Linked DNA regions of Homo sapiens: region 1 is linked to region 2. The links are contacts of gene promoters, found by promoter capture Hi-C in blood cells and fetal thymus (Javierre and others, 2016). All regions are on one chromosome and are shown on one strand. The core of a region is centred on a gene start or on the middle of the fragment in contact, and the rest is flanking DNA. Distances in the headings are between cores, read along the strand shown. Region 1 holds the start of TOPBP1 (DNA topoisomerase II binding protein 1). Region 2 holds the start of PIK3R4 (phosphoinositide-3-kinase regulatory subunit 4).

The links. The method cuts DNA at HindIII sites, captures the fragments that hold promoters and counts their contacts. A CHiCAGO score of 5 or more calls a contact.
Region 1: the fragment with the promoter of TOPBP1 here is called in contact with the fragment with the promoter of PIK3R4 in region 2 in 3 of 17 cell types (total B cells, activated CD4 T cells and naive CD8 T cells); the score reaches 7.7 in total B cells.

What each region holds. Positions count from the first base shown.
Region 1 is chr3:133,660,106-133,663,535 of GRCh38, reverse strand. It overlaps TOPBP1 (DNA topoisomerase II binding protein 1), which reads left to right and starts at 1,595. Exons shown (of 28, transcript NM_007027.4): 1 at 1,595-1,767; 2 at 2,402-2,492. The coding sequence starts at 2,409. LOC124909487 reads right to left here and starts at 2,310. Exons shown (of 3, transcript XM_047449438.1): 1 at 2,190-2,310; 2 at 1,503-2,023; 3 at 198-637. The coding sequence starts at 2,310. The coding sequence ends at 488. It also overlaps a transcript of TF not described here. RefSeq lists an enhancer at 1,169-1,238 and a silencer at 1,639-1,808. The HindIII fragment of the contact is 9,162 bases long and covers 1,469-3,430 here.
Region 2 is chr3:130,745,217-130,749,131 of GRCh38, reverse strand. PIK3R4 (phosphoinositide-3-kinase regulatory subunit 4) reads left to right here and starts at 2,303. Exons shown (of 20, transcript NM_014602.3): 1 at 2,303-2,814; 2 at 3,868-3,915. The coding sequence starts at 3,914. RefSeq lists a silencer at 1,279-1,328 and an enhancer at 2,563-2,622. The HindIII fragment of the contact is 4,673 bases long and covers 1-3,401 here.

The sequences.
Region 1 (3,430 bases), core at 346-2,845, 2.9 Mb before region 2:
GATTCAGGTCAGATTTGCACCTTAACAATTAACTGTGGTTTCTTTTTTTTCCCACCTCTAGTGATTTTTGTTTTTTTGCTTTTAAGGCTTTCTTCACCCTTCCCCCAGCAATAGGCCTTTACCTTTGAGCCCCAGTGTTAATTGATTCTGACTCATTTCTGGTAAAAAAAAAAAAAAAAAAAAATTAATGATATTTATTAAAGCACAGTAAGACAGATTTTATTCCGGACCATCAGGATAGGTATAGCAACCATGGCAATGGGATTCTGAATTAGGAGAGAGAGAGTGGGCTCAACTCTAAATACACCATGGGCAAGTGGGAATTTATAGCCAAGGAACAAAAAGCTTGGGGTCACTGGATAAAAAATTACTAAGAAGGAACTTCAGGAGTAAAGGGGTTTCTTGCTGAAAATAGGTCAAGGTGATCAGACATCACCTTGGATGGTAGAGGATGAGGAACCTGATCAGATATTGAGGGTAGAGGGTTCTAACTGGATTTTCCAAGGAAATGCACAGATAAACCTACGAGAAGGTTGAGGAGTCTGACTAAAGTTTGGCCAAGCAAAGAATCTTTGTCACCTTCCATCGGTGTATTCAAAAACTTAAGACTCAAGCTGCTCATTACTATCTTTAGGCTCTAAAAAGAAAAGAAAAACAAAAACAATCAAGGGACATGGCATTATACTTTTACATTAGTAAATCCAAAGTCATTTTCTCAATCTCAGCAGTGAATAATAAAATGATCCTCATTAGTATAGTGGCTAGATTTTATAAAATAAGAAAAAATTTTTTTAAAAAAGAATAAAATGAAAAGAAGCAACAACGAATCAGTTTTCCGCTGGTTATCACTAAGGTTTGCAGGCCCATCTTATCCCCTCTCCCTTTGCTCTCTGCCATCTGAATCTTAGGTTCAGTCCCAGAATCTCCCCAGTACTGAGGCAGATGCAGAGAAAGAGAACGGCGATGTCCACTGAAGGGGAGGAGGAGGGGAGACCATTGAAGATCTTGACAAAGATCCCTTTGCATTAGCTGTGTAATAAGTCATCCTTTCTTCCCTTGCCATCTTGTGGCTGTGTTAGGCGGTGATTCTATTCCTGCTGTGTTGGAGGGAAACCACCCAGTCCGTAGTCAGAAGACCTGGATGCAGTATTAATTCTACCACCTACTAGCCGTGTGCCCTTGAACCCATCATTTAACTTCCTCCGTTTTTACATCTACAAAATGGAACTACCACTATTTGCCTCACGGAATTGTTTTGGATAATACCTTTTCCCGTGCATGCCTGGTATAAGACAGGTGTAAAATAAATATCTATTGAGGAAATCCTTTCTTTCCCTGGCTTTTTTAACAGTAAAGGAGTATTCCTGGCCTGTGGTCCTACCTCTTGAACCGACGGCGCTGGGCCTACTCGCAGCGGAGACTAGGCCCGCCCAGCAAAGCCCTAAACCCAAAGGGTCCGGCCCAAGCTTTCCCTGAAGCCCCACCGCCCACAGACTGCTCACCTCCACGTTTGACATTTCCGCTCTTCTGCTGCAGCTGCCGATGGCGTCACTTCCACCGGAAAAGGCAAGCGCGGCCGCGCGGTTGGCGCGAAAGTCGGTTCCCGTTCTGGGCAATTTCCGGGTTCTCCAGCGTTTGCTTTGGGGTAGGGGCGGCGCCGAGTCGGGGGAGGGGGCTGTGCGCCGGGCTGGCGCCCGACCCCAGCCACCGCCCTGCGGCCAGCGCGTCCCCCGACTCGCCGCCCGGAGACCCCGAGGCTCCAACGAGGTAAGTGAGGCGCGGAGTGGGGACACAGCTCCTCCCCAGCCCCAACTGGGGTTCGCGATGCCTTCTGTGGCCTTCAGGACCCTCTTTTCCTGTCCTGGTAACTGGCCCTGGAGCCGGCGGGTGGGCCTTTGACGCCGAGAGGACGTGGCTTCCGTGATCCCAGAGCCAGGCCTTTTCCTGGAGATGGGAACCGGAGCATCTAGCCTTATGCAGGGCCAAGACCATGCTAACTGGCTTCCATGTTTATATTTAAAATCTGTTTACTGAGGGATGAACGTACCTCGCAGGCCGTGGGTATCCGCAGGGACAGATACACTCTGTGTATCCTTAAAACAAGTGCAATTGAATGTCCATTGGCCTAAAGGGCTTAGAGCCTTCATAGCAGGGCCTTCCTCAGTGTATTCAATTCGGGTTAATTTTGCTGTCTGATTTGCAAGGATTGGTGTTGTCATCTTTTACCTTGGCTTTGTCCAAGTTCCAGGATTTCTTAGAAATGCCGTTGACGAATTCACGGGCAGAGCCAGAATGTCTGTCTTTAGGCATTCTTGTCTGCACAGAAAAATAGGTAGGTTAAACATGCAACTTTTTATCTAATGTGGTTTTGTTCTTGTTAATGGTTCCTTTATTTTGACAGTTCAGAAATGTCCAGAAATGACAAAGAACCGTTTTTTGTGAAGTTTTTAAAGTCTTCAGACAATTCCAAATGTTTTTTTAAAGCTCTCGAGGTAAGAGTTGAAAACATCTTAATACCGTGAATTCATTTTCTTGTTTTTAAGTGTTTTTGATTTGTTGGGCTTTATGTCTTAGAAGTAGATATTTCACTTTCATAATAATTTTATAGTCTACATTAATACAGATATATCATTATCACATATTTTTGAATTGATCTAAGTACATCATTATGTATTTCGGGGGGCTGGAAGTCTATTATCACATTGCTGTTTAATATGGCTGACCTACAGTTCTTGGAAATTAAGTTGCTTTCATTTGTCTCCTAGCCAGAGTGGTCCTTTGCGTGCTGTAGAAATTTGAGTCAGTTGTGTACTGGTCATACTTGAAAATTTTTTGGTTAATTGTTAAAAATTATGTTTTATTATGTACAGTATAATAATTGGATGATAGTAGGGGTGATGTAGATCCTTGCTTCTCACAGAACCCAGCAGTATCAGCATGGCCTGGAAGTTTCTTCGAAATGCAGAATCTTGGCCTCCAACCCAGACTTAGAATCTGCATTTCTAACAAGATCTTCAGTGTGCATTAAAGTTTGAGAAGCATTTGTAGCAGATTTTTTTAAACTTCATTCATTCAGCAAGTATTTATTGAAGTGTTCATGATTTGATAGGCACTTCTCTAGTACTTGGGATTTATCAGTGATGAGAACAGGCAAAGATTTCTGTTCTTTCAGAGCTTACATTCTAGCAGGAGGACATAGACACTAATCAGACATGATAAATTAGGAAGAGAAAAAAGCAAAACACGTTAAGGGGTTCCAGAGGATGTTTCTTGGGGTGGGAAGAGAAGGGGGTTATAATCTTAAATAGGGTGTGATCAGGGTAGGCTTTATGAAGAAAAAGATATTGAGTAAACGTGAAGGAGGTGAGATAGCCTTGCAGATATCTGGAGAAGAATGTTGCAGGCAGAGAGAGCAACCTTATACAGCCCC
Region 2 (3,915 bases), core at 1,054-3,553:
GAGGAATTCAGTGGGTAGTAGTGCTGCATATTGAGATGGAGAAGAAGGGAGGAGGGAATGTTGCAGGGATAATAACGATTTCAGCTTTGGATTAAAACATTTTGTGTTTCAAAGAATACTATCAAAAAAGTGAAAAGACAACAGAGAGAAAATATTTGCAAATAATATCTCCAACAAGGGATTTGTATCTAGAATATATAAAGAATGCTTACAACTCAATAATAAAAAGACAAATAAACCAATTAAAAAATAGTCAAATCATAAACATTTCTTCAAAGAAGATATATGAATAGAAAACAAGCACAATAAGAAAGATGCTTAACGGAATTGGTTATTAGGGAAATACAAATTAAAGCAACAATGAGATACCACTTAACAGCCACCAGGATAATAAAAAAAGAAGATAATAACAGTGTCAGCAAGAATGTGGAGAAATTAGAGCCCTCATATATTGCTAATGGGAATGTAAAATGGTGCCTGCACTTTGGAAAACAGTTTGGCAGTTTCTCAAATGTTAAACATAGAGCTACCATATGAGCCCACAATTTCGTTCCTCAGTATCTATCCAACAGAAATGAAAACATATGGCAACACAAAGACTTATAGACTAATGCTATGAACATAGGAACATTATTCATAATAACGTAAAAGTAAAACAACTCAAATGTCTATTAACTAACAAAAGGGTAAACAAAATTATTTGCAACAACAAATAAATGAAGTACTAATACAAGCTACAATAGGGATAATCCTCAAAAACATTACCCAAAGTGAAAGTCAGTCACAAAGACCACATATTATATATAAAATGTCCAGAAAAGGCAAGTGTATACAAACAGAAAGTAGATTAATGATTGCCTAGGGCTGGAAGGGGGAGGAGAAATGGGGGAGAACAGGGAGTGACTCCGAATGGTTTCAGGGTTTCCTTTTGGGGTAATGAAAATGTTTAAAATCAGGCAGGCTGGGCGCGGTGGCTCATACCTGTAATCCCAGCACTTTGGGAGGTCGAGGCGGCGGATCACTTGAGGTCAGGAGATCCAGACCATCCTGGCCAACATGGTGAAACCCCATCTCTACAAACAATACAAAAACTAGCGGCCGGGCGCGGTGGCTCACGCCTGTAATCCCAGCACTTTGAGAGGCCGGGTGGATCACGAGGTCAGGAGATCGAGACCACGGCGAAACCCCGTCTCTACTAAAAAAAAAATACAAAAAATTAGCCCGGCGCGGTGGCGGGCGCCTATAGTCCTAGCTACTCGGGAGGCTGAGGCAGAAGAATGGCGTGAACCCGGGAGGCGGAGCTTGCAGTGAGCCGAGATCGCGCCACTGCACTCCAGCCTGGGCGACAAGAGCGAGACTCCGTCTCAAAAAAAAAAAAAACAAAAACCTAGCTGGGCGTGGTGGCACGTGCCTGTGGTCCCAGCTACTCTGGAGGCAGAGGCATGAGAATCGCTTGAACCCGGGAGGTGGAGTTTGCAGTAAGCCGAGATGGCACCACTGCATTCCAGCCTGGGTGACAGAGCCAGACTGTCTCCAAAAGAAAAAAAAAAAGGCCGGGCGCGGCGGCTCACGCCTGTAATCCCAACACTTTGGGAGGCTGAGGCAGGCGGATCACGAGGTCAGGAGATCGAGACCAACCTGGCTAACACGGTGAAACCCCGCCTCTACTAAAAATACAAAAAAATTAGCCGGGCGTGGTGGCGGGCGCCTGTAGTCTCAGCTACTCGGGAGGCTGAGGCAGGAGAATCGCTTGAACCCGGGAGGTGGAGGTTGCAGTAAGCCGAGATCGCTCCACTGCACTCCAGCCTGGGCGACAGAACGAGACTCAGCCTCAAAAAAAAAAAAAAAAAAAAAAAAAAAAAAAAAAAAAAAAAAAAAAATTAAAATCAGATTATAGGGATGATTGCACAACTCGATAGATGTATTAAAAACTACTGCTTTGTACATTTTAAGCAGGTGAACTTTATGGTATGTAAGTTATATCTCACCAGAACTCTAAAAATCCAGCTTGGGATATATTAGTTTTCCTAAATATTCTTGAGTTCTCTTAACTCTGTTCTGCTGTCCTGGGAGTGAAGGCGTGTCTGAGCAGATTCTAGGGGATGTCAGAAACCTCAGCGTTCGTGAATGAAAGGTAGAAGAGCAGGAAGGGGAATAGATCTTTGTCAGAGCATCATTTTCTCCCTGTAGACTCGCCCAAAGTAAGACCACGCCTTCCCTAGTTTCCTAGCAACCGGTTTCCTACCCTGGCAATTCCTCAAGGCTCACTCTTTTTCGTCACTTCCGCTCGGCGACAGGAAGTGAGGTCAGACCGGTTGCTTTCCCGGGAGTTCGGCGTTTGCTGGGGCTGCAGCAGCTGAAGTGTAGTGTTTTCTTGGGACTGGCGGTCTGCACTTCTCTCCCGGGTTCCATCTCCCCCCGCCCGGTGGTGAGGCCCTCGAGGAGGGCTCGGACGGGTGTAGCGATCCGCGCTAGAGGAAGACGAGGCCCGGGAACGCATGTCCCCCAGGGCAGGTTAGGGGGCTGGAGGGGTCAAATCCCGGGGTACTTGTGGAGACTCTTTAGCGTGGCTTCTTCTCTCTGCTGAGACCCCGAGAGCTTTCCCAGTTCTCCTCCCAGGACCACCGGGGTTCCTGAAGATCGGGACTTTTCTGCGCCCCTCCACCAACAGCCCATCTCCTGTCTATGAAGAAAGACCCTTCGTAGAAACAACTTCCCCGCTGCTGACGCGTTTTCCCGTCCCGTCCCCGAAGTAGTCTACTATGACCTCGTTGTGAGCCTCTGAACGATTTTGACACTTTCCCGAGGCCTAGGGTAAATGTTTATGTGTGCTCAAGGTCGTGTGTGTATATGTGTGGCATTTATTTCCTGCAAAACCTGAGTTAGCAGAACCCTGGGGTACGTTTAGCTAGTGTATACTTTGGTCTGCTTTTCTTTAACATCTGTGGCAAGGTTTCTTGTTGCAGACCAGCGAAGTTTGCACCTTCTTTTAGCTGGGTGAGAGGGCACACTGGAATTAGGCAGGAAGTGTCCAGGAGTTAACTGAATTTTTAGATCTTAGTTTGACCTTTTCAGTTTTCAGTTTTTCTTTTTTTTTTTTTATTTTTTGAGACGGACGGAGTCTCGCTCTGTCACCCAGGCTGGAGTGCGGTGGCGGGATCTCCACTCACTGCAACCTCTGCGTCCTGGGTTCAAGCAATTCTGCGTCAGCCTCACGAGTAGCTGGGATTACAGGCACCCACTACCACGCCCGGCTAATTTTTGTATTTTTAGTAGAGACGGGATTTTAACCATGTTGGCCAGCCCCGTCTTGAGCTCCTGACCTCGTGATCCTCCCGCCTCGGCCTCCCGAAGTGCTGGGATTACAGGCGTGAGCCACCGCGCCCGGCCAGTTTTAAGCTTTTAATGTGTCTCTTTCTTATTTCCAAGAAACTACAGATTCTTGGACAAGAACTATGTCATATGGTAACTTTGTAATTCTCATAGCCCCAAGCACAGCACGGAACACATAGTAAAGGCTCATTAATATTTTAAATTTAAATATGAGAAAATAACACAAACTAACATTTTTGGCTTAAAGTTGAAGAGGCCTATCTAAATATAGTTCAGCTCCTGGAAATGGCGATGCGCAATAGCAGGGTATTTTTAGGTAAAATAACAAGGTCTTCTTGGAGAAAATAACATGGTCTTTTTAGATAAATGTGTGTGAAATTTAGAGGCTGCCCCAGAAGGCTAGGTACAGTGCTGTTAGTGGAAGAGAAGTATGCTGCATCTGTCTTTTTGGAAGAGACCAAATAATGGAATAATGGTGTTTCACAGCTTCTTTGTTTCTTGTCTTTTTTCTTCATTTGTTTTTATTTTAAACAGGTATTATATCCTAACCTTACTAAAGACCACAGAGGTGCTTGCCATTAT